2 separate regions of the Homo sapiens genome follow, and region 2 is linked to region 1. The links are contacts of gene promoters, found by promoter capture Hi-C in blood cells and fetal thymus (Javierre and others, 2016). All regions are on one chromosome and are shown on one strand. The core of a region is centred on a gene start or on the middle of the fragment in contact, and the rest is flanking DNA. Distances in the headings are between cores, read along the strand shown. Region 1 holds the start of DYNAP (dynactin associated protein). Region 2 has its middle 69 kb from the start of DYNAP.

The links. The method cuts DNA at HindIII sites, captures the fragments that hold promoters and counts their contacts. A CHiCAGO score of 5 or more calls a contact.
Region 2: a fragment that was not itself captured here is called in contact with the fragment with the promoter of DYNAP in region 1 in 3 of 17 cell types (endothelial precursors, neutrophils and total B cells); the score reaches 5.9 in endothelial precursors.

The regions. Positions count from the first base shown.
Region 1 is chr18:54,589,205-54,594,543 of GRCh38, forward strand. DYNAP (dynactin associated protein) reads left to right here and starts at 2,041. Exons shown (of 3, transcript NM_173629.3): 1 at 2,041-2,135. The coding sequence starts at 2,079. The HindIII fragment of the contact is 214 bases long and covers 1,840-2,053 here.
Region 2 is chr18:54,519,178-54,524,686 of GRCh38, forward strand. No RefSeq gene overlaps it. Among named protein-coding and RNA genes, the nearest start is that of DYNAP, 69 kb to the right of the region's middle. The HindIII fragment of the contact is 4,443 bases long and covers 1-3,666 here.

The DNA.
Region 1 (5,339 bases), core at 791-3,290:
TCCTCCCCTTGCCGCCTTAGAGTGGAAAAAATGGCCAGCTATCAGAGTTCTCTCAAACACATGTCAGCCAACAAGACTTTCAGATTTCTTTTTGGTTATAAATCCTGCTCAGAACAAAGATCCTTTATTGGCGACTCTGAGAAGGTAATGAGAGGTATCCATGCTGTCTGTCATGCTAACAATCCAGGTGTGCTCTGCTTTTTCTGTTAAGGTTTAGATTGAGGCATTCAAAGAATTGTTCATAATACATGGTGAAGAAATATTCTTTGCAAAATAAAAATCTGACTTTCACATGGTATATTTAGCTATAGAACAATGTGTTGTCTCATTTTTATGTTACTATTCCTTTTGATTTTAAATTTTAAAATTTTCTCCCAAATTTTGTGGCTGAGTCATGTAACTGCTTGGCCGGTTAGAGATGGTGAGGGTGAGACTCCAGTGACAAGAATAATCTTCCACTCTTTATGCCATTGATGTAATGTGTGGATGCCATCAATAGTAATGGAGTTTCACTTCCACTGTGGCTATGTGGCTCTACTGCCAAATGAAATGTTTTTGCAGAATAAAATTGTAGTAATATTTTAAAAATATACAATTAATATATATTATTGGTTTAATTATATTCTTCTGATTTTCAAATGAATCAAAAAATCAATCAAAAAGTCTTTCAAAAGTCATTTTTAATATTATTGACACCTTCAACCCATGTTGGTCCCTTGTACCCCATGGCTGTTTGCTTTGCTTCAAGAAGAGTAAATCTTTATGTTTTTCTTTGTGTTTCACTTTTTAAATTGTGGTAAAATACATATAACACAAAGTTCATTATCTTAATCATTTTAAGTATACAGTTAAGAGTATTAAATACATTCACAATATTCTGCAACCATCACTGCCACCCATTTCCAGATCTCTTTTTATCATCCCAAACTGAAATTGTGTATTCATTAAACAATAACTCCCCATTTCCGCCTCCTCCCAGCCCCTGGCAACCAACATTCTACTTTCTGTCTCTATGATTTTGACTATTCTAGGTATGTTATATAAGTGAAATTTACAGTATTTGTCTTTTTTGTGATGACTTATTTCAATTAGCACAATGTCCTCAAGGTTCATCTGTGTTGTAGCAAATCATCGTATTTTAAACTCCTCTTTAGAACAATTTTTTTTCCCAGTTTTTCAATTCCTTGACAGCTTTCCATGTTCTTTATATTCTACAGCTTGAGGGTAAAACTTACAAGCTGAAGGTATTGAATACATTTATAAGAGAAATTTCAAAGATTAAACTTTAAAAATATTCAGAATCCAAAAGTGTCATATACAAAGAGAATAGGAATTTTTTTTTATTATGGAACTTTCTGCACTACAAACATACCTGGCACACTTTTGAAACAGTATTCTCACTTGTTGAGTGAATAAACCAATACAAGAATTGATCATTTTACAATTTAAGACAAACTAGATTTTTTGACCAAAATAAAAAAACCCTCTTCTTAAAGATTTTCAATATTCCATCACTCCTTTGACATTATTGCCTAGGAAATTGATTCTAATAGTTTTTAATGAGTGTGAATTGCTTGAGCAACTGACCAAAGAGACTTCCAGACACCAACCCAGGGACTGAAAAGGTGAAGTGTCCCTAAGGTCATGGGTACCTAAGAGGTGGTGCCAACAAGGGGAGAGAGGCTTTTGTGCTTGAGTAGAAAGCAAGCAATGATACATTTCTATCTCAGAACGTTTTTCTGGGGTCGGTCCTAAAATAAAAGGTGAGTTCCTGAATGATGGGACTAAAGAGGAGAGACGGAACAATAATGTAAGGTTTTCAGAGGGAGTAGTCACAAAAGCTTTCAGAGGAAGTACTGGTTTTCTTGCGTCTTTCTGCAGTTAACATTTCATTTCCTCCTCTAAGGTGGATCCTGTTTTAGTGAATAATTAGTATTTAGTTTAATCCACACTTGTACTGATGCATCATAGTTGACTTCCACCAGTGTTTTAATTGTTTCATGGTTGCAGATATAAAGGGCAATGAACAAATTGAAAAATATTCTTGGAGAGAAGCTTGTGATACTGGCAGCTCAAGAATGGACAGAAAGCATGGAAAATACATATTGAACGTTGAGCACTCTGAAAACCAGCCGGTGAGTGTCCTTGCTCCATTTTGATAGTTTGCCTATATTACAGTTTCATTTTCAGCATTTAAAAGCAGTTTAATCTCTTTATTACTATCTAGCCAACATCATAATTTTGCATTCTTCTCCAAAATAAAGAGCAACCCTGTATCAATTTTTGTGCTGTAACTTTCATGTTTTATTTTGCTATGTTATATATTTAGGTATTAATTTAAATATATATAGCTATAAAGTATTAGAAATGTTTCTATGGCCATAGGATATACAAATAGATCCATTTAACTTTCTATATTCACCTTCATGTAAACATAAACTCCAATGATGTCAGTGTTTATTTATTAAGTTCTGTTTTTACAATTGGATGCTTAGAATTTTTAGACCTGTCAGAACTCAGATTTCTTAATATGCTGAAAAACCAGATATTAATTCTAGATATTAATATTCCTAAGAAAGAAAACTTCCAAAAATACCTGCTCTGTGTCAAAATATGACTATTTTGTCTGCTTTTTAAAAAATATTTTTATACCAAAAACCAAGCCTTCAGTGTATAGTTATCATAATCATATATCTGTATCATATACAGATTTTATGTATCTATTTATATCCAACCAAATAATCTTTGACTTCAGAAAAGGAAGGACATGTAATGAGAATTAAAATAGTGAGTTAAAATTCACTGCCAGCAGAATGAATGAAACATGTGTGAAGAAATAGCTTGCTTTTGTCATATGGAGCTGTGGTAATCAGCCTGTGTAACTCATGAGATAAACCAAAGAAGAAAGTCCTGTTTCTCAGTAAGTGTTAATACAAGAATCCTATAGAGGATTTCTGGTTCACCAAAAGAACCAAGATCTTCACTCCCTGGGCTGGTGTCTGGAAGTCTGCTTGGTCAGTTGCTCAGGCAGCACTGTAATTGGATCTTCAAGATGTTCAGATACTCAGATGGAAAAAAAAATTATCCTTGGTCAGGTATGTATCATCTTGATAGTTTTTCTAGATAATAACAAATGTAAAGATGTTTACAAATATTAGCTTATATTGTTTTTTTTTACAGCATATATCTGGATAGCTGACTAAATATTTTACTTTATTATATTATTCAGGCATAGATATAACTATATTTTTCTCTTCAAACCAAATTCAATAATGGAATTTAAAAAGTATTTGAAGATTATAAACACACAGAAAATAAATTTTGGTGTCCTTGTTTTTCTGTTAGGGATCTAAGAAATCTCAAGTTAATCCTTATAAAGTTTGGGTAAAAAACTTACCGAATGTACTTTAGTTAAGTACAACCAATGCATTTCAGTTGCCTGTGGCCATTATTAGCTAATGCTGATTATGCTAATGCTGGTTAACATTATTTACAGCTCTTCAACTCTTCCAGTTTTGAATAGAGACTCCACCTGTAGTAAGAGTCAGAGCAACCTGACACAGTAAAATTATTACTTAGGCTGCAAACTGGGCCTAGATCACAGGTTCCCCATCCTTAGTGTAGACCCACCCATCACCTTCCTCTCTGAAAGGGCTGGGATTCTAACAGGGCCAGAAAATTCTGGGAAACTGCCCCACTGAGTGAGTTTCACTTTGTTTGCAAAGGCATTAAAATGTTCAGGTTCATCAGCCACAAGCAAATTGGATGTAATGAAAACAACAGGATCAGCACCTAGTTAAATAAGCAAGGGTATTAACAAAGATAAATTCAACTTATTCAAATTTGCATAATGAATAGTAGGTAGAATTTTGTTTATTCATATTTGATAAACATGGGACTGATATCTATTTCTTTTATATTATATTTACAGAAAAAATTAACTTAGCTAATTGTCCACTGCCAGGAGTATCCCATCTTAACTATATTTAATGACAATTTTATATTTTTGTATTTTTAATAATAATTCCTAATGGGTCAATGATTATGTATCATTCTGGTTTGACAGTTTTCATGGAACTCACTGGTTGGTTGGCCAGTAATTTCTATAACTATTAGTAATGGGTTATTAAATCAACACAAAGACAACTAGTGGCAGTAGCGGTAGTAATTAAAATACTATTACTAATAACAAGAATGATAGTTAACACATATTCAGTGGGTATTATGTGCCAGACATTGCTACAAGCATTTGGCAGTTATTTACTCAGTGATCATATGAGCAAATCTGTAAGTGGGTAATTTTAGTATTCTCCTTTTGAAGCTGATAGGAGTGGCCAAAGATAACCTTGATTCACAGCTAGAAAGTAAACGTTATCATCCTGTGAGATGAAGAGCCTTAGATCATTCTACATTATGTTTGATATGTAACAAAACTTTTGGCTGGGTACAGAAGCTCATACTTACAATGCCAGCACCTTGGGAGGGCAGAGCCAGAGGAGTGCTTGAGCCCAGGAGATCTAGACCATCCTGAGCAACATATGGAGACCCCATCGCTATGAAAAATAACATCAAAAATAATTAGATGAGCATGAAGGCATATGCCTATAGTCATTGGCTACTCAGAAGGCTGAGATGAGAGGACTGCTTGAGCCTTGGGAGGTCGAGGTTTCAGTGAACCATGACTGTGTCTCTTCACTACAGCCTGGGTTACAGAGAGAGATCCCATCTCAACAAAACAAAACAGAACAAAACAAAAAACTTTTCCACAAGATCCATAAATTCCTGAATCTACTCCTTTCTCATGTTCACTTTATCTTATCCTTCCCCTCTTTTAACACACCCCTTCCCTAAAGTCTTTCCCTGCCAACTCAGTTGTTTTCAATCCTTATTTACCTCTTTTTCTGAATAATTTACAATTATTGCATTTATTTGTTAATTAGACACTAACCTGTTTTGCCTCCCTGTTAGCAAATAGACTCCTTGAGAGTGGAGACCTGTATTGTTGTGGACTGTTTTTACATTGCTCTATGCCCAAGAGGAACCCAGCAAAAACATACTGCAAATTCGACAAATGATTTGTCTTCTGTGTCACTGCCATAGGCTTGCAAGTTCCATTGGATAGAGCATGGTATGAATTATGTAAAGCAGTCACTTTGTGTAAGAATTTTTCACTAGTATCATGTAGTATAGTATATACTACATTACTGTATTAGCATAGTATGGCATAGCATAAGAATATACTATTCCTAGTATAGTGTAGTGGAGTACATGGGCCTTAACACTGGAAGGTCTGAGCTCCTGTGCTAGCTGTTGTGTCATGATGACAAATCATTTCAACT
Region 2 (5,509 bases), core at 195-2,694, 71 kb before region 1:
AGATCACAAAATTAATGTTTAAGGACCAACTGTGCTAAGTCCCAAGAAGGAACACAGTACTGGAGAGGTTGTGAAAGTAGAAGAATGAATTTAAATTGGAGAGTGAGATTCACACTGAGACCTGGAAGATGATATATTAGGTTTCTTTGGCTGCTATAGCAAATACTACAAACTTAGTGACTTAAAACAACACAGATTAATTATCTTGCAGTTCTGACGGTTAGAAGTCCAGCATGGATTTCACTGGGATAAAGTTAAGGTATTGGCAGGGCTGAGTTCTTTCTGGAGCCCCTGAGCCTCCAGAACCTGTTTTCTTGCTTTTTTCCAGCTTTTGGAGTCTACCTACATTCCTTGGTTCATGGTCCATTTATTCTATCTTCAAAGCCCTCAAAATTGTGTATCTCTGATCATTTTAGTCATATCTCTTTCTGAGGCTCACTCTGTCTACCTCTTCCACTTTTTATGACCCTTTGATTACATTGGTCTCATTTGGATAATCCAGGATAATCTTCCTATTTTAAAGTCAACTAATTAGCAACCTTAATTCCACCTTTAATCTTAATTCCCCTTTGTCATATAACCTATCTGTGAGGATTAAGTCTGTGAACATTTTTGGGAAGGTCATTATTTTGCCTAGATGAATAGGCATGAGCCTGGGGAAGTTGGTCAGGGGTGGAGGGAAGATATCACAAGCAGAAGACCTTGAGTCAGGCTTCTGTTGAATTCATGAAAAAGAAGAATGTGTCTGAAGGGGAGAGCAGAGCCAGCTAAGGAGGTAGATGGAGCTAGATTTTGCAGGGCCTTTTTTGCCTTGTTAAAGATTTGGGACTTTTATCTGAATGCAGTAAGAATCCATCAGAGTGTTGAGTATGGCATGGCATCATGGGATGGCATTTAAGAATCACTCTGCATTCTTGGAGGAGAGTTGATGGAGAAGGCCAGCAATGAGACTCCTGTCCTTACCAGAGGAAGAGATTTATGAGATTCATTAGCACAGGGCTTGCAATTAGTAGGAAGTCTCCTGTCTGTAGTTCTTCTCTACAACCAAGGTATTTGCTAGCATCTTTCTCAGCAACATTCATTATTTTTGCCCATTCTACTTCCTCTTAAAGACTCTCTTCTTTTACAACACCTACTTTTGCTCTTTTTGCCAACCTCTAATATCCTTTATGATCTGGCTCAAGATTCACGCCTTCCAAGAAGCCATCAGCAACTGGCTTTATTCTACATCAGTCACTGCCTTTGCTCTCTGAACATACTGAATGACTTAACTGTCATACTCACCATATTCCTCCTTCCAGGGTCTACTCCAGCACCCCACAATGGCTTCTGTCCTGCCTAAATTCCCAACCCACCATGACTGAGACAGATTTCACTGACCAGATAGTTAAACCTTCAATTTTGAACAATCAGGTGCCAGGATCTTCCTCCATCTACTGTGGCCCTGATACCTATGTTGCAGCTGTGAGCTGATGAAGTATAATGTCCCACTGGTGAGTCCTTAGATCTCTGTATTAGTCTGGACAGGCTACGTTTTGCTGCAATAACAAACAGCTTGTGTATTGCAATGATTTATAAGAACAAAGGTTTATTTCTTGCTCACACTATCTGCCCATTACTGGTCACTTATGGGCTCTGTTCATTTATCATTGTCCTCATTCTGAAACTTGGGCTAATGGAACCTGGCCTTTTTGTAGAACATTGTCTTCTATCATGGCTTATGACATGCATCAGTTTTAAATCTCTGGCTTCAAAGTGATAAATACATTTTTTACTTACAACTGTAGCCAAAAGAAACCTGAATTCAAGGAGACTGAGAAGAAACACAGAAGGCTAGAAAGTGCAACCTTATCACGTGTTGGAAAAGGGAGAGCTAGAACATTTGACAAACAACACGAATGACTAGTATTTTCATTCTGGTCTCAGGATCAGGACTCAACCCAAATTCCATGGTGCCTCAGATCTGATAATCAAATTATGATACCAGAGGTTACAAGCCTAAGCCCTGTCTGTGTGACTCAGTTTTTATACCTGACTTTTTCCTGGGTTTCCCTTTGAGTCCTATTTTAGTAATCACTTTGTTCTCCTCCATTCTCCAACAGGGCTGGAAGCCTTGTTTTGTCCTTTTCCAGTTTCCGTTCCTATAGGCTGGAGGCTCATCTATTCTGATGCTAGAGCCCTACTCCCTATAGGCAGACTGTGACGTAGATGTCAATGAATGCCTGGACTCCTGAGGATTGTCTAATTGAATTGCACCTGTAGAAGGCCTTGATATTTTTGGTTGGTTTCTCTCATGCTGATCATTTGCTTGAACCCTGGGCAGAGGTTCCGAGTCTGCAAAAATAATAAACTTTGCCTTCTCCCTGAGAATTTTCAGCCTGTGATGTAATTTAGGTCTGAGTTCCAGCAGCCTCTTGCTAGTGGGCAGGCAAGTTTTTGGGCATTACCACCACCCCTTTCTTGCTGTCAATAAACAATCATATTGTCTTAATATATTGAGATGTGTTGGCAGAGTCTCTGGTTGCTTTCTGATCTTTTTCCTATCCATAAGAGATTAAGATTCTAAATATATCTTCATTTCCCCCATTTCCCAATTTTTTTTTTTTTTCTCAGCATCTAATGTGACACAGTGAATGTGCTAGGAGTTTAATAACTACTTCTTGGGTAAATGAATGGGGAGCCACAAACTTACCTTAGAACTCATAAAATATCACTAAATGCTTTGGTATTTCATCAGAAAAATGGGGTAATGACATTTAATTCAGGAAGACATTAGGAGGATTAGATATGATCAGTGTGGTATGCTCTGGAAGAGGCATTCCTTCACAAGAAATGGCAATAACATTATTAATAAGATGTGGCTGAGTCAGATGCCGCCCAGGTGTAGAACAGCAGCCAGTTAGTGTGCCCCAGTGACATTCTTCAACAAGGGATGAAACTTTTATTTTCCTACTTCTCACACACACCTGAACTGCCCTCTTGTAGCCTTTTCCTTAAGTCAAGGAAAAGTAACCCTTAATTTATTTAAGGCACATTTTTTGGTGGTCATTGGAGGGGTAGGACAGAGATGATTTGTTGAACAAATTTTCAGATAGTTTTGGTTTTTTCAGTCTTCCACTTGATCATTTTTTCACATAGTCATTTTACTGGTTTGATTTTTACTTGACATTTAACTTCCACGCATTTTGAACAATTATCTTTTCAAGTTTAATTGACAGGAAATGTAAATCTGAATTCTGTACTGAAGCCTTTGAAATATGGTATCCATTTATTTCATTACCATTTGATCACTCAACACAATATGATGAATTATAATAATGGCCCTGGCATCAAAAAATTGCTAAAGATGATAGACGTGGAGATGTCATATTGATTCTCATCACATTAAAAGACCAAAGCAGGGACACAGAGATGTTTTGATTACTATCAGTTCATGGTGAAATCTCAGCCACAGAAATGTTTGATGTGGGTAACATGATAAATAAATCAATTTCATTGTAATCTTTAGGACTATAGTGTGCTTCATTTTATAATGCTAGATGACATATTAACAGACTCTACATTCCTTTGGCTAAAAAAAGAAACCCTGTTATTGAAGGACTGTCAACTATTCTTAATTAATGTAGGCTTCCAAATTTTTTGGCTTAAAATTCTGCAGATATGAAAAGCTTTTGTAGGAGATATTCAGCATACCAATGAGAGATATCTGTATTCTCTTTGCACATTGTAATAATCCAGGTGCACTCTACTCTAGTGGTTGGCCTGTGATGTAAGATGTAATAAATGAACAAAATATGTTCTTTGAAAAAATAGTGAAAGTTTGAATTTTCCACTGAAAATTTAAGAACATGATAATTTACATTTTCATTCTTACTTTGGCTCTTGCAATGGCTAATCGATTCATGATGGTGACGGAGGGACTTTGAAATTATTTTGTCAGTAACAGAATGATGTATATACTCCATATATTTCTGAAATAATGATTTACATTGGTGGAATTCCACATACTCGATGGTTATGAAACTCCAGTGCAAAATTTAAATATTTGTATCTCAGTATTACAATGTTATGTTAAATTTTAAAATAGTTCAACTAAAGTATATATTCTAATCAACTGACATATTTGTTCACTAGTGATATGAATTGATTTTTAAGTCAGTGGAGTCAGTGGCTTATTGAGTGGTATTGTTTAGTACTAGTGAATCTTCCAACTCACGTAGGTTCCTTATAGCTAAGTGACCACCTGTCTTGTTTGCATGAGATACCGTTGTCTCTGAAATTACTACTAGTGTTTCCTTTTGCTTTCAAAAGGAAATTTTGAAATGGATGGTAAAGTACATGAACACTCTACCTATACAGTCCTGGAAGCCATTGTTTTGGACTCTTTTTTGGACCAAATCTCTTCCCTAGATTTTTCATGCCTTTTTTGTAGTATAGGCCCCAGGGCTGTTTTTCTTTGCTTCAGTGGATTCCAATGGAAACGTTTTGCTGAAGAATGCATTTATAAAAGAATTTTAGAAATGATCAAAAAATTTTAAAATACATAATCTTCGCTCTTTTTCACCATTGAACACTCAGCACTTTGCACAATGCTTGGCTATCGTAGAGACTCCATAATTACTTGTTGAAGAATAAACAATTTAAAACTTAACCATTTTTTATTTAAGAAAATTCAAGTTTCTTCACACACACACTTTTCTTCCCAAAGATACTAAGCTACTGCATGATTACTCTTGGAATCATTGCTTAGTAAAATATTTCTCAAACATTGTTTGAATAAAGATTACTTGGCATTTGGACAAACAGGACCAAAAGTCAGACTCCCAGATCCTGCCCCTGAGAGTCTGGTTTTGTCTCAGATAATGCCAGATAAATAATAGGCATTCCATCTAGGATCCTCTCCAACTCCAAGTCTTTGAAATCTTTGTCTTACTTTAATTTCAAAAGGATATTTCCTTGACTTCCTACTAAGTTGTCCATCTTTCTACCATGTCACTGCTGATAATGTAGTTGTGGAGAAGATATTAGACTGCATAAAAGCCAGGTTCCACCACATAACTGGCTTTTTACCACTTCCTCTCTCTGGACACAAATTTCCTCCACCTTAAAATGACATGGCTGAGCTACAAGATCTCTCGGATCTCTTGCAACTCTGTTATCAGGTGGTTCTTATCTTTGAAGCCTGATAGATGTCTGATCATGAGACATTTTCCACAAAAGAGTACAACTACTTTGTCTTTGTTGCTTCATTTGCAAGAAATAATCTCTGGATTAATTATTACTTAAGAGATATTTTTAGTCTTTTAGGTTATTAAGCACCATTCTTCACCAACAACTTTCTGCATCAATTTTTTTTCAGATTCCCTAGATACGTGTATTGGGAGGTGATTGGTATTTTTTTTTTCATTTCAGAGGTTAAAAATAATCTCTTAACTTTTGCCAATTGTCTTTTAGATCCTGCCAAAGATATTTCTACAGATAAGAAAAAAGCCTTTGCCTTGGAGTATAA